Regions from separate parts of the Homo sapiens genome. Here region 1 is linked to region 2. Evidence: promoter capture Hi-C in 16 types of primary human blood cells and fetal thymus (Javierre and others, 2016). All regions are on one chromosome and are shown on one strand. The core of a region is centred on a gene start or on the middle of the fragment in contact, and the rest is flanking DNA. Distances in the headings are between cores, read along the strand shown. Region 1 overlaps SPTLC3 (serine palmitoyltransferase long chain base subunit 3). Region 2 holds the start of TASP1 (taspase 1).

The links. Contacts are between HindIII fragments. The CHiCAGO score rates a contact against its expected background, and 5 or more counts as called.
Region 1: a fragment that was not itself captured here is called in contact with the fragment with the promoter of TASP1 in region 2 in 1 of 17 cell types (total CD4 T cells); the score reaches 6.4 in total CD4 T cells.

The regions. Positions count from the first base shown.
Region 1 is chr20:13,141,856-13,146,205 of GRCh38, forward strand. The region is part of intron 9 of SPTLC3 (serine palmitoyltransferase long chain base subunit 3); the gene reads left to right. It also overlaps a transcript of TASP1 not described here. Among named protein-coding and RNA genes, the nearest start is that of ISM1, 77 kb to the right of the region's middle. The HindIII fragment of the contact is 6,662 bases long and covers 1-4,350 here.
Region 2 is chr20:13,637,258-13,642,235 of GRCh38, forward strand. TASP1 (taspase 1) reads right to left here and starts at 1,675. Exons shown (of 14, transcript NM_017714.3): 1 at 1,637-1,675. RefSeq lists enhancers at 1,032-1,532, 1,146-1,235 and a silencer at 1,426-1,575. The HindIII fragment of the contact is 10,129 bases long and covers 1-2,798 here.

The DNA of each region.
Region 1 (4,350 bases), core at 888-3,387, 490 kb before region 2:
AAAAAAGTTCTACCTGGTCTTTTTGTGTGTGTGGACCTAAGGTCAGGGTTAGCAATCAAGGTGACAGACATTGCCTCTCTGCCTTGCTGTTGCTGCTTACCTACATGTGTGACAACTTGGGTTTGTCCAATAAATGCAAAATTAGCCAACAAACTGAACTCTAGTTAAGAGGGAAAGTTTGCCTGGTTGTGCAGAAATAGCTAGCAAACTGTTCCAGAACCTTCTGCCCCTTCATTTACTTTATCCAAAGAGTTAGCCAAGGGTAGACTTTTATGAAAGCTCAGTAAATTCTGCAGTTGATTTGAGTCTTTAAAAAATTTCCCTAGAAAGAATGTAAAGAGAATCTGTGTGTCTTTTAGATGGCACTGGGGCAAAAGATAGTGCAGCCACTTCCTTCCAGCCGTCCCACAAACAAGATATCCTTTTACATGAGCCCTACTGGAGCATCCTCTTCACATTTGCTTCCTCTGTGTGGTTGGACCCTGAGATGGGGGAGTGGTGATGTAATACATATGGAATTCCATGTTGGTTCAGTACAAGTGGGAAAGGAAAGAACATTATTCCATCTGTAGCATCTTCCAGGGTAAAGGGGAACTGGTATTCCACACTGGCCTTTGTTTTTCCTTCCTACAGCTGGGGAGGATTAGGCAGGTGGATTTGTGCCTGAGGAATCCCAGTGTGTGGGTCTGGGCTAGAGAGATTGTATTTGCTTTCTATTTCTACATTACGAATTACCACAAACTTAGTGACCATTGAATATATCAGTTTCCTTGGGTCAGGAGTCTGGGCACAGTGTATTCTCTGCTCAGGTTCTCATAATGCTGAAATCAAGGTGTCAGCAGCTGCTGTTTTATCTGGAGCTCAGGCACCTCCTCCAAGCTCACATGGCTGTGCCAGAATCCAGTCTTTTGGGGCTGTAGGACTGAGATCCCATTTCCTCTCTGGCTGTCAATGGGAACACTCTCAGCTTCTGGTGGCTGTTTCCGTCTCATGAGGGCCCCTCCATCTTCAAAGCCAGCAACGGAGAGTCTCCCTCACATCAAATACCCCGCCTCTCTCTCTCTCTTTGAATCTCTTTTAAAACTTCAGAGATGTTCACCTGTAGCTAAGACCTAATCAGGGCTCTCTTAATTAGGACTTCATTACTGGTGAACATCTCTGAAGTTTTGTGCCCTTTGTAAAATAGGAGGACTTTATGTAGTTAAATTCTCTGTGATCATCTGCTTCAACTTGAGCACTGAGAATGAAATTATTCTGATAAACATGTAATTCTTAAAAATAGGAATATATGGAGGACATGTCTTGGGCACCAAAAAGACCAAGAAGGAGACCGGGATGGCCAGGTTGGCTGTAGGTGCCGCAGGTCAGTTATGTAGACAAGAGGGACCCAGTTTTAGAGAGCAAATCCAAGTCAGTGAGTCCAGTCTTTGGTTCAAATTAATAGTTTTCAATATTTGTGAACCATAGAATTTTTCAAATAAATGTGTATGAAAGTATATATATATATTCTGTAGCACTCAAGTTATGTCAGACACCCTACTAACTGCTTAATATTTAATCCTCATAACAGTATGCAGTGGGCATTATTATTATTATCCTTGTCATGATTCCCATTTTACAATGAAGAATCCAGGTCTCAGAAAGAGGAAGTACCTTGCCCAAGATGGTAGAGTTTACTTTGAACCCAGCAAATTGGCTTCATACTGTTTGAGTGCTTGGCTGAGAAGTCATTGTCCTGGGCACAAGGCAAAAGTCTGGGGGGCTTCCCCATCAATTTTTCCCCATACCCTCCTCCCTGAGGCCTGTTCAGTGCATCCTACCCTAGCAAAGCTCTGGAAACCAAAAGGTTTTAATTCTGCAGGCAGCTGCCTTGGATGGGGCTTCCTGGTGGCCACCTTCATTTGCACGGTTTCTCAGAGCCCTTTCAAGGAACCACATTAACACAATTACTCAGCCTAGTATCTGTCTTTTGCCAATTCCTTTGTCTTCTTGCCACAAATTGGAACAGTTGTCGACACAGCTCCTCGCCCATTTCAGACATTTGCTGCCACCTTGGCTTCCTGACTAGTCTTGCTACCTCCAGCTTTTCCCTCATCCTGATCCATGCACTATACACTATGAGCTTTGTCTTCCTAACCCCCTCAGAGCATGTCATGTTTACTTACAATGCTTCCAGGGCTCTCTAATACCCATCAAAAAATTGTGACTCTCAAGGTGGCATTTTTAGCTTATGATGATCTAACTCTACTGATCTTTCCCATGACTGGAATCCAAACATTCTAGGCAAGTACTCATCCCTTTCCTCCCCATCCCCAAACTTGTGTCCACAAGATGTTAAGTTACCATCTCTAGGTCTCCTTCAAACTCTCAGAGCACTTCTTTTATTGGGCACTTGATTTTCTATCTTGTTGTGATTAATTTTTCTAGTTTATAAGACCCTTGAAAATAGTGGACACACTGATATTTTAATCTTCCACTGAACACAACAGCCACTTACAAATAATAGGTACTAAGTAAGTAGATGCTGAATCAATCATCCTCCCAGAAGTCCTGAGAAATAGATGTAGTAGCTATTACTATCATCCCCATTTAACAGATCAGTAAATTGAGGCTCAGAGATGATGAGTGACTTGCTCATCTCTATAGATATAGAGGCAGATAGAACCTAACGCACAAATCTATTGACTGAGGACAAAAATTTCTTGAGGCTGAATTATTCTCTGGTGTCTTCAGTTATTATCAATCATTATTTTTAGAGAATCAACAAACACTATATAATTTGTTACTTTCAGCAGTGGTTCTTAACTGGAGGTACACACCACAGTTACCCAGTGAGTTTTTCTGAAAGGTCCAACCTAGTCCTTCTGGAGCAGAATGTCTGCAGAGGGAGGTCTACTATGTGTGTGTGTGTGTATATATATATACACAGATTTTTTTGAGACGGAGTCTCGCTCTGTCGCCCAGGCTGGAGTGCAGTGGCGCAATCTTGGCTCACTGCAAGCTCCGCCTCCCAGGTTCACACCATTCTCCTGCCTCAGCCTCCCAAGTAGCTGGGACTACAGGCACCCGCCACCACGCCCAGCTAATTTTTTTGTATTTTTAGTAGACACAGGGTTTCACCATGTTAGCCAGGATGGTCTTGAGCTCCTGACCTTGTGATCCACCTGCCTCAGCCTCCCAAAGTGCTGGGATTACAGGTGTGAGCCACCGCACCTGGCCTACTATGTGTATTCTTGAAAAAAAAATTCTAGAAACCCTGATGTGTTTCTCTGGTTAAGAATCACTGATTTTGAGGCAAGAGAAAGAAATAAAGGGCACCCAAATAGGAAGAGAGGAAGTCAAACTATCTCTGCAGACAACATGATTATATATATCTAGAAAACCCCATAGTACTGGCCCCAAAGCCCCTCAGCTGATAAACGACTTCAGCAAAGTTGCAGGAAACAAAATCAATGTACTAAAATCACTAGCATTTCTATACACCAACAACAGCAAAACTGAGAGCCAAATTAGAAAAGAATCCCATTCACAATTGCCACAAAAAGAATAAAATACCTTGGAATAGAGCTAACCAGAGAGGTGAAAGATCTCTACAATGAAAATTACAAAACACTGTTCAAAGAAACCAGAGAAGACACAAACAAATGGAAAAATATTCCATGTTCATGGATAGGAAGAATCAACATCATTAAAATGGCTATACTGCCCAAAGCAATTTACAGATTCAGTTCTATGCCCATCAAACTACCAATGACATTCTTTACAAAACTAGAAAAAAAAAGATTTTAAAATTCATATGGAACCAAAAAAGAGCACAAATAGCCAAGGCAATCCTAAGTAAAAAGAACAAAGCTGGAGGCATCATGTTACCCAACTTCACACTATACTACAAGGCTACAGCAACCAAAACAGCATGATACTGGTAAGAAAACAGGCACATAGACCAATGGAACAGAATAGAGTGCTCAGAAATAAGACTGCATATCTTCAACCATCTGATCTTCAACAAACTTGACAAAAACAAGTAATGGGGAAAGGACTCCCTATTTAATAAATAATCAGCATCATTTATTAAATAGGGACAAATATAAATAATTCTGCCATAAAGCCACATGCATGCGAATGTTCCTTGCAGCACTATTCACAATAGCAAAGACATGGAATCAACCTAAATCCTTATCAATGACAGACTGAATAAAGAAAATTTGGTACATATACACCATGGAATACTATGCAGCCATAAGAAAGAACAAGATCATGTCTTTTGCAGGAACATGGATGGAGCTGGAGGCTATTCTCCTTAGCAAACTAACACAGGAACATAAAACCAAATACCACATGTTCTTACTT
Region 2 (4,978 bases), core at 425-2,924:
TGAAAAAATCAGAACCCTTATAACCTGCTGGTGGGAATGTAAAATGGTGCAACCAGTTTGGAAAACATTTGGCACTCACTCAAAAAGTTAAACATAGAGTTACCATATGCCCACCAATTCCACTTCTAGGTATATACTCAAGAGAACTGAAAACGTATGTCCATACAAAAACTTGTACACAGATGTTTATAGCAGAATTATTCAAAATAGCCAAAAAGTAGAAACAACCTAAATGTCCATCGACCGATGATGGTTAAGCAAAATGTGGCATATTCACACAATGGAACATTACCCATCCATAAAACAGAATGAAATACTGATACACAGACATTGATGAACCTTGAAAACATACTAACTGAAAGACACCAGACAAGTGAGGCCATATATTCTATGATTCCATTTATATGAAATGCCAGTATAGGAAAATCCATAGATACAGAAAGTAGATTAGTGGTTACAAGGCCTGGGAGAGAAAGCAGAGAATCTAATGGGGAGTGACTGTCATGAGTATAGGATTTCTTTTGGGGGTGATGAAAATGTTCTGAAAGTAGATAGTGGTGATGGGTGCACAACTTTGCGATATGAGAAAAAGCACTGAAATTTACAATTTTAAAGAATAAATTTTATGGTGCATGAATACCTTAATAAGACTTTCTCAAGAGGAAAAAAGACAATCTATCCGTGCAATGAACACAATGTATGTAACTATGCCTCTTAGTTATAACCGTATTTTACACGCATACATTATGATCACAAATAGGTTAATATGAATAAAATATTAGAAAAAAGATCAAAATGCTGGGTTGGCAGAACTATAGGTGATCTCTTCATAACTATTTCTGCATTTTCCAGATGTTCCTTAGTAAGCACTGCTTTTTGTAAGTGGTGGGGAAAAGTTTTATTTACAACAAAAAAGATAAATTATTAAACTCCTAAGAATATAAGTAAAAATTCCTTCGCTAATAAAGAATAATAATAATTCAGCAATCTAATGGCCCCTAACACACCTTTCCTTCCCCTCCCCTACAGAAGCCAGGAAAGTTGAACTCTCTCCTTCCGGAAACACGATACCCTCGATTTCCAGGACATCTCTAGCTCCTGCTTTCCCCCCCTCCTCTCCAGCTGCTCCATCTTCTCGGTCCTTTCCTCCTCCTCTTCTTCCTCCTCCTCCTCCCCCTGAGTAGTAAGTGCTAACGACCCGCAGGACTCTCATCAGGCCTCTATTACTAAGTAAGGGGCTGCCTTACCCCCAACCCGCCACCCAGGACAAGGCGCACATTCTCGGCTGTCTGCGAACCTCGGACTCTGAGACATCTCCAGCCTGAGACTGCAAAGTGGGTGAAGAACTGCGAGAACTCCCCACATACAGACAGTACTTCCCCGGTGGCCACGAGGACGCCAAGCCGGAGATGAGGCTGGGAAGGGGGACGACGGGGCCGCCTAGAGCGACCAAGACTAGGGAACTAGGGACATCCTGGCCCCCTCCTCTAGCCCCGCCCGGGGCAAGGGGTGTCCTGCGCGCCGCCCCCTCTCGGACCCGGAGAGGACGTCCCAGCTAGCGTACGGGGCCCACACACAGAGGCAGCAGCGCGGAGGCGGCAGCGGCGCGGACAGCGTGGGAAAGAGGGACACTCACCCGCTTCAGCCCCGAGCCTTCACTGCACCGGAAGTAGTCACCCGCCCGTTGCCAGGGTGAGGAAGCGGGGCTGACATCAAGTCTCCCCATTGGTCATTCGGGGTACCACGTGGTCGGAAGCAGCCTCCCACAAGCGGCTCTGACTCCGCCCTCCGCTTCGGAGCGGCTCACCTGGCCTCAGAGGTGCAGCGCTAACTCCACCTGGGGCTTCGTTCTGAGCTGCGCATGCGCTATTGCTTATCTCTACCCACCCCGCCCCTGAATAAGCCCGCAGGATGTGATTATATCTGAGTGGTTGATTGACTAATACTGTGATGAGAAATGAAATTAAACTGACCATCATTTTATCTAGGTGTCGCTTAAGAGTTACTTTCTTTCAATCCTTAGAGCACTGTTAGACGGTAGGGAAAACTAAGGTTCAGCCTGCATTGCTTGTAGGAGTTGGGGCACGAGCCTTGCCCAGGGGGAAGGAGTGTAGGCGGTCTTTTATCGGCTAGGATGTAAGACCGAAACCCAGTCATGGGTTTTGATGACCCATGACTGATGGATTTTCCTTATACTTCCACCAAAACATCACGTCGAACTGAATGTAAAGGCAGAAATGAGAATCTAACTGGCTTCTTTAAGCCAGCTATAGAGGAATTTACACTAATGCAAAAGATAACACTTTTCTTACCACATTTTTTTGTTTTTGGAAAATATTTATTCTTCATTAAAATGTCTTAATTATATTAACACATAATGGTTTATTATTGTTATTTTAAATAACTTTTTAACATTTCAGTTTTTTGTTGGTTTTTTTCTTTTTTTTTTGGAGATGGAGTTTCACTCTGTCAACCAGGCTGGAGTGCAATGGCACGATCTCGGCTCACTGCAACCTCTGCCTCCCGGGCTCAAGCGATTCTCCTGCCTCAGACTCCTGAGTAGCTGGGATTACAGGCGCTCGATACACACCCGACTAATTTTTTGTATTTTTAGTAGAGACGGGTTTTCACCATGTTTGCCATGCTGGTCTCGAACTCCTGACCTCAGGTGATCCTACTGCCTTGGCCTCCCAAAGTTCTGGGATTACTGGCGTGAGCCACCGCACCCAGCCACATTTCAGCTTTGTATTCAATTTTTAATATAGTAAATATTAATAGATGTAACCCACAGAAACAAAAGCTTTGGAGTGTTCTCTACTATTTTGGGGAGTATAAAGGTATGCTGAAACCAAAAAGTTCGAGAACCACTGATACCATTATTATAAATATAACCTATGTGGTTTTATTATGTAACTTGGGGCTTTTTTTCTTTCTCTTCTACCACTGACTTCTTAGGGAGGGGCAAGGGGAAGAAGTTTATTACATAGTAAGAATAACAGTTTATTACATAGCAATAGTAACTGAAACCGATTTTGTTACCTAGAAGTAGGATGGATATTATAACAAAACATAACATAATAACATCATAAAAGTAAAACGTGTGGCACTGGCTTTGGAACTAGGTGAAGCAGCAAGAGCAGGAAGGGATCCAAAGTATTAACAAGAGTCTAAAAGGACTTGAGGAAGCTGCCAATGAGGGCTTAAAGGGAGCTAAGGAAGATGTTATTGGAAGCTGGAGAAAATGGGGCCCTTGTTATATAGTGCCAGAAAGTTTGGCCCAGGCATTAGGAAGCAGACATAAACCATCCCCATTGTGACCTTTCTGAATTCCTCACCCGCAGAATCCATCAGCATAATAAAATAGTTGTTCTTTTGCACCTTTAAAGTGGATTTTTACACAGCAATATTAACTGGAACCAGCAGGAATAAAAGAAAGATGTTAAAGTTTTAAAAAGACATAGACATGCTCCCTTCCATTTCTTAGGCAACATTCTTCCTGGAATTTAACTACATTGTAATAATCATCTCCCAGTGCTGCTCTGTATACTTTTGTCTTGGGTATCACACCCAGATGCCACACAGGCCATCCTCTGGTAGGTGAATACTGCTCAAGTAAAAGTAACAAAATTCTTCGGACCCTTTTTTTTATTATTATTATTGAGGCAGAGTCTCACTCTGTTGCCCAGGCTAGAATGCAGTGGTGCGATCTCAGCTCACTGCAACCTCTGCCTCCCCGGTTCAAGTGATTCTCCTGCCTCAGCCTCCCCAGTGGCTGGGATTACAGGTGCCCGTGACCACGCCCGGCTAATTTTTGTCTTTTTAGTAAAGATGGGGTTTTGTCATGCTGGCCAGGCTGGTCTCGAGCTCCTGACCTTAGGTGATCCACCCATCTCGGCCTCCCAAAGTGCTGGGATTACAGGCATGAACCACCATGCCCAGCCCAGACCCAAGTTTTAACATTTTTAACCTGCATTGGGTACAGTAACAATGAGATCCTTTGAAATATTAATAACGAACAGTTGTAATATCTATTTGATTAACTCAACATGTTAAATTTGAAAGGAAAGTCTATACTAGTAAATCTCCTTCAGAAAAAATCTGGTTGCCTCCCTCTTCCTGTTCCCACCTCTCCCAAACCCGGAAAAGCAGCAAGCTGAGGAATTACTTCCTTTATCTCAAATAATCATGTCTGCTGCATCTTGATCTTTGTACTCTAAGTAAGCCCCCTCTGTCCTGGTTCCCTGGGGGTCTCCCTTTGTTTTGTATTCCTGGAAAACTATTGCTTTAACACATGTGTCAGAAATGTAGCAGAACAATAGTGATAGTTTTCAATTGTTGTGCCGCAAGTTAACACCAATTCACCTGCTTAAGACAACACAAATGTAATATTTCCGTTTCTGTGGATCAGGTGTCCAGGTCTCTGCTCAGATCTCAGAAGGCTGAAATCAAGGTGTCAGTCAGAGCTGCCATCTCATCGGATGCCCAGAGCGATTCTCCAAGCTCATTCAGGTGATTGGCAGAATTCAAATCCTTGCAGCTGTAGAGCTGGCCACTTTTGTCTTCTTCAAGGTCAGGAGGAGCAGTCCTCTCTGACTTTTCCACCTTGAAAGGACTCAACTGATTAGGTCAGGTCCCCCAGGATAATCTCTCCTTTGATGAACACAGAGTCAATGATTCGTCGTCAAGTTTCAGGAGGGATGGCCATCATATTCTCAGCTTCCATCCACACTCCAGGGGAGAGGATCATACAGGGTCTGTGCACCAGGGGTAGAAATCTTGCAGGTCATCTTAGAATTTTGCCTACCACGTGGAAAAAAGAAAGTTTCAATTATAGATGGACTGCGACAACCCTTCAAGCAGTCCTATGGTAGACAACAGTTGTTTCGCCTGCCCAGCATGAATTCCTTCTTATTTCTCCTAACAGCACCCCACTTCACTTCCAGGGACTGCCCTTCACCACTTGCACCCAGCGTAAGTG